3 separate regions of the Homo sapiens genome follow, and regions 2 and 3 are each linked to region 1. The links are contacts of gene promoters, found by promoter capture Hi-C in human tissues and cell types (Jung and others, 2019). All regions are on one chromosome and are shown on one strand. Each heading gives the region's core, a stretch centred on a gene start or on the middle of the fragment in contact. The rest is flanking DNA. Distances are from core to core; before and after follow the strand shown.

What was found. The method cuts DNA at HindIII sites, captures the fragments that hold promoters and counts their contacts. A contact is called where the count stands out against the background at its distance.
Region 2: a contact is called between a fragment that was not itself captured here and the fragment with the promoter of FREM3 in region 1, in 1 of the 25 tissues and cell types used here (mesendoderm cells).
Region 3: a contact is called between a fragment that was not itself captured here and the fragment with the promoter of FREM3 in region 1, in 1 of the 25 tissues and cell types used here (H1 embryonic stem cells).

Annotation. Positions count from the first base shown.
Region 1 is chr4:143,698,480-143,703,358 of GRCh38, forward strand. FREM3 (FRAS1 related extracellular matrix 3) reads right to left here and starts at 2,196. Exons shown (of 8, transcript NM_001168235.2): 1 at 1-2,196. The coding sequence starts at 2,196. RefSeq lists an enhancer at 1,563-2,220. The HindIII fragment of the contact is 26,872 bases long and covers 1-4,879 here.
Region 2 is chr4:143,563,959-143,568,796 of GRCh38, forward strand. No RefSeq gene overlaps it. Among named protein-coding and RNA genes, the nearest start is that of SMARCA5-AS1, 52 kb to the left of the region's middle. The HindIII fragment of the contact is 3,943 bases long and covers 366-4,308 here.
Region 3 is chr4:143,541,879-143,546,769 of GRCh38, forward strand. SMARCA5 (SNF2 related chromatin remodeling ATPase 5) reads left to right here. Exons shown (of 24, transcript NM_003601.4): 15 at 1,631-1,779; 16 at 1,975-2,094; 17 at 2,859-2,969; 18 at 3,592-3,705; 19 at 4,047-4,169. Among named protein-coding and RNA genes, the nearest start is that of SMARCA5-AS1, 29 kb to the left of the region's middle. The HindIII fragment of the contact is 3,394 bases long and covers 1-3,142 here.

The DNA of each region.
Region 1 (4,879 bases), core at 946-3,445:
GTCAATGTATCGGAGGAAATTCTTCTGGAAGTGAGTGAGTTGGTATTCTTGTACAGTCATTTCTAGTGTAGTTCCTGGATACAGCTGTGGACTCAGTATATCCACTGGTTGGACCTTGATGGTGAAAATGTGCTGTTTGGAGAGATTGGGTGGGTCATGGTCATCCTGCACATGGAAAGCCAGCTGGACCATTACAGATTGAGGGCTGTGTGGTCCAAGATGGCGGTAGAAGAGTCTCCCTTCCATTATGTCTCTCTGTAGCCACTCAGTCACCACTTTCTCATAAAGCCCTTCCTTTTCCATGTAGTGCCAGTCTTCATCTTCAGTTGAGAGAGGTAGTTCAGCCTGCTGCAGCAACAGGTCCCCCAGGTAGTGGCCTGAGTGGGAGGAACCAGGGGCCAACTCCCACTGAGGCTCTTCCTCATTTCCTTTTAGGGGCTGGTTCTCCAGCACAAAGTGGATGGTTGAGTCCTCAGAGTCAATATCAGTAGCACTCAGTACAAAGGGAGAGATCTGGACCACCTGCCCTTCAGTGAGTGAGAGTCCTGTGTTAGTATTGACCATTGGTGGTTCATCATCCACAGGTAGGATGGTGAGGGGAAAGAGGAAGTCCACTTGGTGGTGCCCGTCCTCCATCCGGAAGATGATATTGTCACTGTAGGTGTTGCTGCCATCATGCTGATACACCACTCGCCCTGCTGCCAGGTCCGCTGGTGTGAAATACTTGCACCCAGCAGGTGCCCCAAACACCACCAGCTGCCCATGTCTCAAGCCCCTGACTGCAGCCATTTTCACCTCTTCCAGGTTATCTTTATCACTGATAGGAATGCTGTGGGTGCTGGACAAGGGCCTTGACTGACCTTCAAAAAGCACAAGTCCCCTGTTATGGCTAGCCACTGGGACCAGAGTATTCATGGATTTCACTGTCACCATGAAGGCAAAGGGGTCTGAGGCGGCGCCGTCTCCGTCCACCACCTCCAGCTCCAGCTGAAAGAGGCGCTCCCCATGGGAGTTCTCTGCAGGGGGCTGATAGGCAATCTTCAGCTCCCTCAGCTCCTGCTGGGTGAAGAAGGAGACTGGAAGCCCTAGAGGGTCGTCGGTGCTGACCACGTAGCCCTGTTGCCCCGGGTGCCCTGGTGGGTGAGTGGGGGCGTTCAGAATGTTGAACACCAGGTCACCAGGGTCTGACTCGACGTCCTCCGCGGCCAGTGCGTCAGGCGTCAGGGCTGTCAGCACCAGTGGATCCACCTCCATCATCATCGTGGCCATGAAGCTGGGCCTGGGCGGTGTGTTCTCGGCTCCGCCGCGGATCCTCACGAGCAGCTGGAAGTGCTCGCGGACCAGCACACCCGCGGACCCAGCGTCTTGGCCCTCAGGCCCCAGCAGCTCCACCATCATGGGCACGTAGTCACGGTTGGGCGAGGAGGTGGCTGTGTGCTGATAGCGCACCCCAGCACGGAGGAAAGCCTCACAGTCTACGCCCTTGCCCCTGGGGAGAGGGGCCCCCACCGCGTCCACCAAGCGCCCGTACTTGGGCAGGGGGCCGTCCTCGTGAGGAAGTGGGGTAAGCCGGCACCTGCGGGTGGCCGTGGCTCCAGACTTCAGGGAGGCGAAGTCCAGCACTCTCCTGTCTATGGCGCGGCTCCAGCTTCGCAGCTTCTCCACTACCAAAGGCCTGTTACGCGTCACCAGCTCCAGCTGGGAGAAGACCAAGTCCACCGCCAGCGTGAAGGGCAGCACCAGAGTGTGAGTCGGGGCGTCGTAGCGCAGCTGCAGCAGCACCCGGGCGCGTCCGGGGCTGTGGGAGCCGAAGTGAGTGTACTGGACTTGGCGGGGCCCGAAGGTGCAGGGGAAGCGGCGCGGGGAGAGCGCGCCCTTGAGCCGCGGCAGGGCGTCCAGTACCGTGACTTCGCACCGGTCCCCCGGCTGCACTCCAATCACCAGATCCCGGAGCGGGTCGAGCCAAAGGGAACGACCCAGGGGCACCCGGAGTCCAGGGTTGGCAATCAGCACGCTGGGGCCGTCGGGGCGAGTGCCGTCAAGCGCACCCCGGGCGGGCAGGTAAAGCGCCGGGTCGGGCTCGGTCCCAAGTGAGGATGCCCGTCCCTGCAGCGCGGGGCGACTCAAGAGCAGGCAGGCGAGCGCCACAAGGAGCTGCCGGGGCGTCCCAGTCGGGTGCCGAGAAGCCCCCGCCATGGCCACGGATGGCTCCTGGCGTTGGGATTCCCGGGGTGGGGTGCCCTGTGCAAAGAGGGATCTGCTGAGCGGCAGGTGCAGGCAGTGGAAGCAGTAGCTGCTGTCCAGTCGGTAGCCGACTTGCGGATCCAGCAAGAGCCAGCGGCTGCGCTTCGGCTGCTGCAGGTAACGGCAGCGGGGGAAGGGGCTCTGCCCACTTCCTGCTCAGCCCCGGTCGCAAGTCTCTCTCTGCTGGCTTCTGGGGACCCCAGATACGCGCCCAGCGCGGCGAGACTTAGCGAGGGTGCAGCGCTGTCCCCTCCGCTCCTGGGCGCTTCACCCAGCCTACCTTACACACCTTCTCGCCGGGAGCCGTGGCCGCCGCACTGCTGCCCGCGCTGCCAGACTCCGACCAGCTGTCTGGATACTCTCTTCCCCAGGTGCCACAAAGGGATTGTCCCTCAGGGTTGGGAGAGAGACGGTGACTGTACTCGGGTCAGTCCTGCGTCTGTGAGATTGAGCTCCTGTTGTCCATTCATCCAGGGATTGGTGTTTCTGAAAAGGGGGAGAGACACCATTCCTCTTCCTTACCGCTGACAGGAGTGTATCTTCTAGCCAAAAACTGAGTCTCACTTCGGACATAAAAGAAGCTGGTGGGAGCTATTTTGCAAATAGGATTTTCTAGCTGTCTGTCTGATGAAGCAGCTTATTCAGGATCTTGTAATTCGGTGCTTCCAAACAACCCTGACGTTTTTCTTCTGCTCAGGTTTTGAAAAAGAAAATCAGCACCCAAACTTACTTGAACAGCTTGTAATCTGGGTTTTTTTTTTTTTTTTTTTTTTTGTCATTGGGTCTCACATAACAAAATCAGGTGTGCGGCTCGGCTTCCTTTCGTTTTCTTAGAATGTGGTTTCCATATCTGATCAACAATGACTTGCCTGTTAGTTTATTAGACATGCTGTTTTCTAATTACTTTCTTCGTAGACAGTAGCCAGAGGGGAGGATGTCAAAGGAAACAGTAGCAGAATACTTGGATCAATTTCTGTGGCTCAATCATTTAACACCTGGAATCAGTCTCTTCATGGCTTTCAGATGAAGGTGACTATGGATGTAGTGTTAGGTACTTAACAGAATCCTATTAATTTTTTAAGTTTTAAAATAGCCAATTTAGTTACAGTGCAGAGTAATCTTTTTCTATAAATAAAGTAGTAGTAATAGTAACGTGCTTCCTTATAAAATTAATGTGAATGTGAGAGACTTTTTGATGACAGTAAAAATAGATGTCTACAAACTATATTGATAGAAATGGCTTCAAGGGGGAATAGAAATCTTTAAATGTTATCCCCATGTTATTCTTTTAGTTTTTTACCGTGTTACAAATGCCTGTTTTATTCACAGCAGCAACGGCATCAGCTGATTTTCAGGGCAAGAATAATCTGCTAGTGACTTGAAAGATTTAATTTTCTCTCTAAACATTTAATTTAATCATCCAGTGAAATGCTATGGGTCTATACAATTCACTTTAGTTGAATGTTAGTGTGCCCCATTAGCACACAGATTTGTTCATATAACAGAATTTTGAGATAATAAGTTTGAATCAATATGTGTTTAGCCTAATGATACAGTATTAGTTCAGTGTATCTGGAAAAATATTATTTAAAAATATATTTCTAATTGAAACACAGGTAAAGTTTCATTGTAAATGAGTCATTATATTATATTTTATAAAGCTGCTGCCTTGTCCAAAGGATGGGTTTTTAATGGTAGAACTTTTATTAGTTTGCATATATTAAAGTTACCAAATGAATATTCCTATAGGAGTGCAGTTTTGGTTCTTTTTCAAGCACACTCACTCACTTTGGGACAAGTACCTTTTTTTCTATGCTATTTTCACTGGAAGTAGAGATGGATGTGGGCAGCTGAGATAACAGAAAGCTGAACTACTATGTTTATATTTTTGTCCTCTGACCCTCCCTCTTCAGCATATATTCCCTTCACCTCTTTTTCACCATTAAATGTCTTAAAAGAGTTTTTTATTTCATTACTGTCTCCATTTCTTCACCTCTCACTCATTGTCTCTTTAGGGCACTCCCAGTCTGGTTTCCACCTTAGACACACCAAAAAAACTTTCACTAAGGTCATTAGTAACTTCCATCTGGCAAACTCCTATAACTATCTCTCATATTGTTAATGTTGCCACACCTTTCTGGTTTCTTTTCTACCTCCCAGTCTAAGTCTCATTTCTTCAGGAAGCATTTTTCAAATGCTCTTCAAACCATGTTGCAAAATCTCTGTAGTTATCTATTCATGTACAGGTCGATTAGTGTCTGTCTTCCCTGTTTGGCTTTAAGCTACAGGAGAGCAGGGAGTATGTAATGTTCACCATTGATACTTAGTGCTTATGCCAAGGACTGGCACATAGCAGGTATGTAATAAGTATTTGTTGATTGATTGATTGATTGAATGAATGAATAAATAGAAAAATGAAAGGGAATCAGAAGTAGTGATCGACATACTTTGCAGTTTAGGTGTCAGGCAGGAGAAACCAGTGCAAGCGTAGGATGACTTCTTTCGTCTTTCCTCAGAATATGCCAGTTCATTAGAGGTCAGTGGAAGCTCTGTTTAGAAAATTCAAATTTGATTTCTAGCCAAATATTTATATTACCCAAATTTTCTTTTCACAGGGTAATTTCACTATCCATAT
Region 2 (4,838 bases), core at 1,087-3,586, 130 kb before region 1:
TTTATATTCTAAAATAATTTTTATGTCAGGCAATTCTGTCTTTCTATACCTTTCTATACAATTCTGTCTTTCTATAAATATTCTTCCAGGCTGTATTTCACTTTGTGCCTTGTGTTTTCACCTAAATGTTGAGGGAAGAAAATTATTTTTTGGCAAATAACCATTTTCCTCCAGGTTTTTAATCTAAAGGTGGTTATATGCTAAAGACAATATGATATTAAGAAAGCAGAATGTGTCATGTTCTTACTCAAATGCTAAACCTTTTCTTAATGGAAAGAAAATATATAAACTAAATATGTTGTTTCTGAGACCTGAAGATTATAACTTTTTAAATGTATTTCAGTCTAAAAGGTTAGGATCCCATGTATAAACATGGCAGTGCATAAGACACAACTGAGAGGCGAACTGCTATACTATACAGAATTGTTAGCATTTCTTGTGGCTCGTGTATGTTTCAGAAAAAGATCAGTAAGTTACCACACTTTTCTTGCAAAATTGTATATAAATTAACCTGATATCCTTTTATACCAAATCGTGGTTACTAAATATTGCTATTCTGTAAAAGTGCCTAAGAATCATTATTTTCAACACTAACACCCCGGAAACAGTAAGAGAAACCTGAAAGTGGTAGGAAAGAATGAAAGGCCTTATTAGTCATCTAAATTATAAGTTTTCTTTTATGTTGTTAATATGGACATGGTAATTATAACTCAGTATCTTCTTGGGGTCCCTGACTCATTGTTCTTCACTCACTCTTATTAGGACCTCTGGAAGATATAATTTATCCTATTTAAGTGAGCAGGATTTTCCCCTCTAGACATACTTTATAAGCATTTTCTCATTAGAAAACCACATGTGCTATAACAGTAGTTTGATTTGCTCTTTACAATATCAACAGATACTACTTGTTTCTGTTTGTTTTTTGTTTTTGTAGAGACAGGGTTTCATCATGGTGATCAGGCTTGTCTCGAACTCCTGACCTCGTGATCCACCCACCTTGGCCTCCCACAGTGCTGGGATTACAGGTGTGAGCCACCATGCTCAGCCTGTTTTTTTTTTTTTTTATTTCAATAGTTTTGGAGGAACAGGTGCTGGTTGGTTGGATGAAAAAGTTCTTTGGTGATGATTTCTGAGATTTTTGTGCACCTGTCACCCAAGCAGTGTACACTGTACCCAATGTGTACTCTTTTATCCCTCACCACCCCCGCAACCCTTCCCCCAAGTCCCCAGAGTCCATTATGTCACTCTTATATATGCCTTTGCATCCTCGTAGCTTAGCTCTCATTTACAACATACGAACATACGATGTTTGTTTTTCCATTCCTGAGTTACTTCACTTAGAATTATGGTCTCTTTCCAGGTTGCTGTGAATGCCATTATTTCATTCCTTTTTATGGCTGAGTAGCATTCCATGGTATCTATATACCACATTTTCTTTATCCACTCATTGGTTGATGGGCATTTAGGCTAGTTCCATATTTTTGCAGTTGTGAATTGTGCTGCTATAAACATGCATGTGCAAGTGTCTTTTTCATATAATGATTTCTTTTCCTCTAAGTAGATACCCAAGACTGGGATTGCTGGATCAAACAGCAGTTCTACTTTTCACCACATCCACACCAACATCTGTTATTTTTTGATTTTTTAATTATGGCCATTCTTGTGGGAGTAAGGTGGTATCGCATTGTGGTTTTGATTTGCATTTGCCTGATCATTAGTGATGCTGAACAATTTTTCCGATGTTGGCCATTTGCATGTCTTCTTTTGAGAATTGTCTATTCATATCCTTAGTCCACTCTTTGATAGGAGTATTTGTCTTTTTTCCCTTGGGGCTGTCTGTTTACTCTGCTATTTCTTTTGCTGTGCAGAAGTTTTTTAGTTTAATTAGGTCCTGCCTATTTATCTTTCTATTTGTTGCATTTGCTTTTGGGATCTTGGCTTAAGCCAATGTCTAGAAGAGTTTTTCGATGTATTTTCTAGAATTTTTATGATTTCAGGTCTTAGATTTAAGTTCTTTTTTTTTTCTTGAGATGGAGTCTCGCTCTGTCACCCAGGCTGGAGTGCAGTGGCGCGATCTCTGCTCGCTGCAAGCTCCACCTCCCAGATTCATGCCATTCTCCTGCCTCAGCCTCCCTAGTAGCTGGGACTACAGGCACCTGCCACCATGCCCAGCTAATTTTTTGGATTTTTTAGTAGAGACGGGGTTTCACTGTGTTAGCCAGGATGGTCTCGATCTCCTGACCTCGTGATCCGCCTGCCTTGGCCTCCCAAAGTGCTGGGATTACAGGCGTGAGACACCACAGCTGGCCAGATTTAAGTTCTTGATCAATCTTGAGTTAATTTTTGCATAAGGTGAGAGATAAGGATCCAGTTTCATTCTCCTACTTGTGGCTTGCTAATTATCCTAGCACCATTTGTTGAATAGGGTGTCCTTTCCCCACTTTATGTTTTTGTTTGCTTTGTCGAAGATCAGTTGGCTGTAAGTATTTGGCTTTATTTCTGGGTTCTCTATTCCATTCCACTGGTCTATGAGCCTATTTTTATACCACTACCATGCTGTTTTGGTAACTATAGCCTTGTACTATAGTTTGAAATCAGGTAATGTGATACCTCCAGATCTGTTCTTTTTGCTTAGTCTTGCTTTGGCTATGTGGGCTCTTTTTTGGTTCCATATGAATTTTAGGATTGTTTTTTGTAGTTCTGTGAAGAATGATGATGGTATTTCTATGGGAATTGCATTGAATTTGTAAATTGCTTTCGGCAGTATGGTTATTTTCACAATATTGATTCTTCAAATCCATGAGCATGGAATGTGTTTCCATTTGTTTGTATCATCCACAATTTCTTTTAGCAGTGTTTTGTAGTTTTTCCTCGTAGAGATCTTTCATCTCCTTGGTAGGTATATTCCTAAGTATTTTATTTTATTTTTTTTGTGGCTGTTGTAAAGGGGGTTGAGTTCTTGATTTGATTCTCAGCTTGGTCATTGTTGGTGTATAGCAGTGGTACTGATTTGTGTGTATTGATTTTCTATCCTGAAACTTTACTGAATTCATTGATCAGATCTAGGAGGTTTCTGCATGAGTCTTTAGGATTTTTTAAGTATATGATCATATCATTGGTGAACAGTGACAGCTTGACTTCCTCTTTACCAATTTGGATGCCCTTTATTTATTTCTCTTGTCTGATTCCTCTGGCTAGACTTACAGTACTATGTTGAATAGAAATGGTGAAAGTAGGCATCTTTGTCTTGTTCCAGTTCTCAGGCGGAATGATTTCAACTTTTCCCCTTTCAGTATAATGTTGGCTATGGGTTTATAATAGATGGCTTTTATTACCTTGAGCTATGTCCCTTTCATGCCGATTTTGCTGAGGGTTTTGATCATAAAGGGATGCTGGGTTTTGTCAAATGCTTTTTCTGCATCTGTTGAGATGATCACATAATTTTTGTTTTTAATTCTCATAACTTGTTTTTGATCTTACAGGCTTATAGATGGAAGGAACTTTCCTTGAGTCTCAGATTGGACCTTTTGGACCTTTTTTTTTTTTTTTTTTTTTTTCTTTTGAGTTAAGGGTCTCACTTGGTCACCCAGGCTGGAGTGCAGTGGCATGATCTCAGCTCATTGAAGCCTCTGCCTCCCAGGTTCAAGTGATTCTCTTGCCTCAGCCTCTCAAGTAGCTGCAATTACAGGTGTGTGCCACCACACCTCACTAATTTTTATATTTTTAGTAGAGACAGATTTCACCATGTTGCCCAGGCTGGTCTCGAACTCCTGACCTCAAGTGATCTGCCCACCTTGGCTTCTCAAAGTGCTGGAATTACAGGTGTGAGCCACCATGCTCAGTCTCAGATTGGACTTTTGAGCTGATGCTTGGAATGAGTTAAAATTTTGGGGGACTATTGGGAAGGGATGATTCTTTTTTGCAGTGTGAGAAGATCATTAGATTTGGGAGGGAAGGGGTAGAATGATATAGTTTGGGTATTTGTTCCCTCCAAATCTCATGTTTAAATTTGGTCCCCAGTGCTGAAGGCAGGGCTTGGCTGGAGGTGTCTGGGTTGTGAGGTGGATACCTCAAGAATGGCTTGGTGCATTTCTTACAGAATGAATGAGTTCTTGTTCTGTTTGTTCACAGGAGAACTTGTTGTTTAAAAGAGTGTGGCACCTTCATCCCCCTTTTTCCTTTCTTGCCATGTGACACACCAGCTCCCCTTCACCTTCTGCCATGATTGAAAGCTTCCTGAAGCCTCACCAGAAACAGATGCTGGTGCCATGCTTCCTGTACAGCCTGCAGAATTGTGAGCCAAATAAACTTTTCTTTATAAATTACCCAGCCTCAGGTGTTCCTTTATAGCAACACAAATGGACTAAGACAGCAGTTTTCAAAGCTTTACACATTTGGCTGTATGTCTTTTTTCTCTTCTACAGCTGTCTAACCTGCTTCTTATTTGCCCCAAAGGAGGATATAGGGAAACTTTGGGCTCATGTTAATGCTCATAGGTAGATGTCAGCAGTGATACTTCTGGATCAGGTGAGGCTATCCATTTGACTTTTACACTTGAGCCCATCAGACAGCTTTACTACTGTATTAGTCCATTCTCATGCTACTAATGAAGACATACCTGAGACCGGGTAATTTATGAAGGAAGGGGTTTAATGGACTCACGGTTCCACATGTCTGGGAAGGCCTGACAATCATGGCGGAAGGCTAATGAGGAGCAAATTCATGTCTTACATGGCAACAGGCAAGAGAATTTGTGCAAGGGAACTCCCGTTTATAAAACCACCAGATCTTGTAAGACTTATTCACTACCATGAGAATAGTTGGGGGAAACTGCCCCC
Region 3 (4,891 bases), core at 196-2,695, 160 kb before region 1:
TGGAGTTTTGTTCTTGTTACTCAGGCTGGAGTGCAATGGCACGATCTCGGCTCACTGCAACCTCCGCTTCCTGGGTTCAAGCAATTCTGCTGCCTCAGCCTCCTGAGTAGCTGGATTTACAGATGCCCGCCACCACACCTGGCTAATTTTTTTGTATTTTTAGTAGAGACAGGGTTTCACTTTGTTGGCCAGGCTGGTCTTGAACTCCTGACCTCAGGCGATCCACCCACCTCAGCCTCCCAAAGTGCTGGATTACAGGTATGAGCCACCACGCCTGTCCAAAACACTTTTTTTAAAGATAAAAAAGACCTTAATTGATTCATAATTAATTTAGAAATCTTGAGGTTTTTTTACTTCATATTTACTGTGGCAATTTTTGGAGCAAACCTTCAGGCTAATAGCTTTCTTGTGCCGTTTGTAGACATGTTAGTCAAACAGCAAGCCTTAAGTGCATACCTTTGTGTTACTGTTTTTTATTTGAGGGACATAATTAAAAACGAGAGTACACAAGCACTTTACATCTGAAGGTTCCGGAACCTTCCTGCCCAACTTGGAAGTAGTTTGTATAAGCATAAGAACATTTTGGTAGCAATGGTAGCATCCAATCCAAGGAAACATACCTTGTGGATATCTCCTCACTTACAAAGTCATGGATGTTTGGCTGTATATCCTATTATGGGTCCCAAACCATGATACAAGTATTTAAAGAAGTTGTTGAAAACTTGGATCTTTTTCCACTTACTTACAAGTTGGTTGGCATATAAAAATCAAAGCTTTGTTTAGGTGTATGTGAGTGACCCTTGAGGAGGGTGAAAACAAGTCTTTCTGGGTTTTTGTTTGTTTTTTTATACCTGTATTTTTGAAAAATTACAAGGTTGTCCAAACTCCTGCCAACTGAAAATATTTATTAATTTATTAATGGTGAGTTTCTTCGATGATCCAGATACATTTTCTCACCAGGTGTGGTAGTGCATGCCTTTAGTCCTAGCTACTTGGGAAGCTGAGACAGGAGAATGGCTTGAGCAGGGAGTTGAAGGCTGCAGTGACTATGGTCCTGTCATTGCACTCCAGCCTAAGCAACAGAGCAAGACTCCATCTCAAAAAAATAAACGAATAAAATAAGTTTTTAGGAGTTTCAGTTCTTCTGGAAGTTTTCTTTAAAAAGAAACTGATGTTACATATTTCAGTTCTGTGTAAAGTTTGGCCTAGGTGAAGGATTTTTTACTTTACTTTTCTAAGGAGAAAAGCTGATTTGGGGAGTATTAGTTAATAACACCTTTCTGCTCATCAGAAACTTGTGTGTATAATGCTTCCATCTGTTGAAACTTGTAGGTTTTTGAAAATTTTTCATATGCAGCTTTCACAAAAGATTATATTTCGTTGGCACAGTATACAGCAGGTTTCATTATATAATACATAAGGTTTAGGAATGTTTTGTAGCTTACCAACTGAAAATTTGGCATTAAATTTAGTGCAAAAATCAAAATTATTAGATGTGAATAAACAGTAAACAGAAATGATTGACATTTGAGATAAAATTATAAAGCATTAAACCTTACATTTAAAGTTTCAAGTTTCCAGTAAAATAAAGTCTGTTCAGTTAACATTATACAACACAATCTTTTTTCAGGGAGGCTTGTGGATCAGAATCTGAACAAAATTGGGAAAGATGAAATGCTTCAAATGATTAGACATGGAGCAACACATGTGTTTGCTTCAAAGGAAAGTGAGATCACTGATGAAGATATCGATGGTATTTTGGAAAGAGGTGCAAAGAAGGTGAGATGTAGATTAAATAATGCTTTTAATATAGAATGTTTTAGACCAGAAACAGGAAATATTTGTTACATTGATGATAAATAATTTTATTTCCTTAAAGAGAAGCTTTTGTGTACGTGAAGTTAATTTATTTTGACTGCAGTTTTCATGCTTTCTTTGCTGTGAATCTAAGAAGCTGATTGTTTTGTTCTCTAGACTGCAGAGATGAATGAAAAGCTCTCCAAGATGGGCGAAAGTTCACTTAGAAACTTTACAATGGATACAGAGTCAAGTGTTTATAACTTCGAAGGAGAAGACTATAGAGAAAAACAAAAGGTAATTTAGAAATAGGTTTGGGTTACATGAAAGCTTTATTTTACTGGAAACTTGGAATTTTAAGTGTTACTGTAATGTCTTATAATTTTGCTTAAAACAGTAGTCATTTTTGCTTATTCACATCTGAATATTTTCATCATTATGTAAAATTTAATGCCAGTTTTTCAGTTGGTAAGCTCTGAAATATTTTTAAAGTTTTTGTAATGAAGTTTGTGGTATATGTTTACAGTGAAATATATTCTTGTATGGGATGAATAGTAATTTGGGATGGTAACCTGATTCATTTTATTTTAAACAGCAGAATTGGCTGGTAATAAAGGGAAAAATTTCTTAACTTCATAAGTAATACTTGGTAATATAGAGATAAATTGAAAAATACCCAGAGATTAGAAGAAAAAAATAATTCTACCCAGTGTTTTTCTTGTTAATATTTAGGTCTATATCTTCAGAATTTTTTGTAGGCTAATTATGTGTCTACATTTTTCTCCTAGTTTAGATTTATACCAAACATTCTGTAGCATTTCTCCCTCATTTAACAGTTGTTCCTTTAAGCAAGAAATACTGAATGCTTACTCTGTTGACTAGACACTGTCTCGTGTTAATTATATACATAATATTGAGCAAAGTATCATAGTCTCCACCCTCATAGAGCTTATAGCCCAGGATTTTGTGAATATCTTTACATTTACAAACATCCTTCTTGATGATGATTTGTTACTGTGTATAATAAAAGTTGGTGATTTGAGTTGTTTCCCATGTGCTAGATTGCATTCACAGAGTGGATTGAACCACCTAAACGAGAAAGAAAAGCCAACTATGCCGTTGATGCATATTTCAGGGAAGCTCTTCGTGTTAGTGAACCTAAAGCACCCAAGGTGAGTTGACTGACACAGCATAAAAATATCTAAAAATTTTGAAAATGTAATTTTTTTCATATATTCTTGCAAAAAGATTGATAATTAGATTTTGTGTTTCTTTTTTTTTTTTTTTTTTGAGACAGAGTCTCACTCTGTTACCAGGAGTTCAGTGGTGCGATCTCAGCTCACTGCAACCTCCGCCTCCCGGGTTCAAGCAATTCTCCTGCCTCACCCTTCCGAGTAGCTGGGACTACAGGCACCCACCACCACCCCTGGCTAATTTTTGTAATTTTAGTAGTGATGGGGTTTCACCATGTTGGCCAGGATGGTCTTGATCTCTTGACCTCATGATCCGCCCACCTTGGTCTCCCAAAGTATTGGGATTACAGGCGTGAGCCACTGCCTCTTTCCTACATTTTGCATTTCTTTAGAGTGTACTCTCTTCTGTTTTTAGTTAACATTTTTCAAAAATTAATTTTGAATCTGTGCATTTAAAATTAAGATATAAATTCAGTTTTATTGAAAGATGCATTCAGTTGCTTGCAGAATTGGCTGTTGTGGTTTATGAAGTGAGGACTAAGGATACATTTAAAATGAAATTTCTTTTTTATGGATAACACTTATTTTTGTTTTTCTTTAGGCTCCTCGACCTCCAAAACAACCCAATGTTCAGGATTTCCAGTTCTTTCCTCCACGTTTATTTGAATTACTGGAAAAAGAAATTCTGTTTTACAGAAAAACTATTGGGTACAAGGTAATTGAAATTATCTGCCTTTCTGTTCATTCCTATCCAGAAATTATGGAAGGTATAAACATTAGTTATAAATATTTATCTAATTTGGACCTAGTGTGAAACAATACTGCTTTAGCCTAGTCTAGTTGTATGTATGAAATACATAAACTTGGGTCTGTTTTTCTTTAACAAGAAAAAATAAGACTTCATGACCAATCTGGTTTGTTTTTAACATAATACATGCAATGTATCAGTATATTTTCTTTCCTGGTTGAATTGAAACTTGTGAAATGTCAGTTAGTTGGTTCATCACATGCTCTTTAAAATTTACTGATTTGATGGCATAGAAAAATATCTTTTAGGTACCTCGAAATCCTGAGCTGCCTAATGCAGCACAGGCACAAAAAGAAGAACAGCTTAAAATTGATGAAGCTGAATCCCTTAATGATGAAGAGTTAGAGGAAAAAGAGAAGCTTCTAACACAGGTATAGCCTTTAATCAGTACAAACTTTAGTAACAGTTTGTTGTAAAGGACTGTGTTAGGTTATGTTGGGGCATAAAAATAAATACAAGTTTCTGCTTTTAAAGATGGAATAATTGGAGACAATAAAGTATGGGCATGTGGATAAATGCTCCATCTGATTGTCACTAGTTGAGGTAGTTGAGAAGACTACAGATTTTATTACTCTGGCTCGGTAGAGTGGGTATCTTTTTTATCACCTTACTTTGAATGTTCCCGTCTTTCCTATGAATTTTCCACATTGCTACCCAGTCACCATTTTCAACTATAAATCTTGGCTTGGTTATTTTTTAAACATCCTTTGGTGTTCATCAAGGTCTTTCAGAATCTGGCCTTTGACTTACCTTTAAAGCTTCATTTTCCTTCCATTTTTCTACTTGCTCATATTTTTGCCCTTTATGTTATTCACTCTTTCTGGCCAACTGCTAGTAATCCTTCAAAGCTCAGTGAAACTGTCACCTTTTCATACAGTATTCCTTACTCTCAGCCACTCATATTTAATTGCTTGGGTATTTGAGCAATATATAATGTGTTGTCAAAAGTGTATATTTATGTACACGAAAAGTTACCACTCTAAAAGAACTTAATAAACTAGTGAAAATTTGTTTTTGTAATATTTAGAAGGTTTGCTAATAGCATGTTTTCCAAGTTTAATGTGCTGTGATTAAATATTTTGTTTCTGTTCCT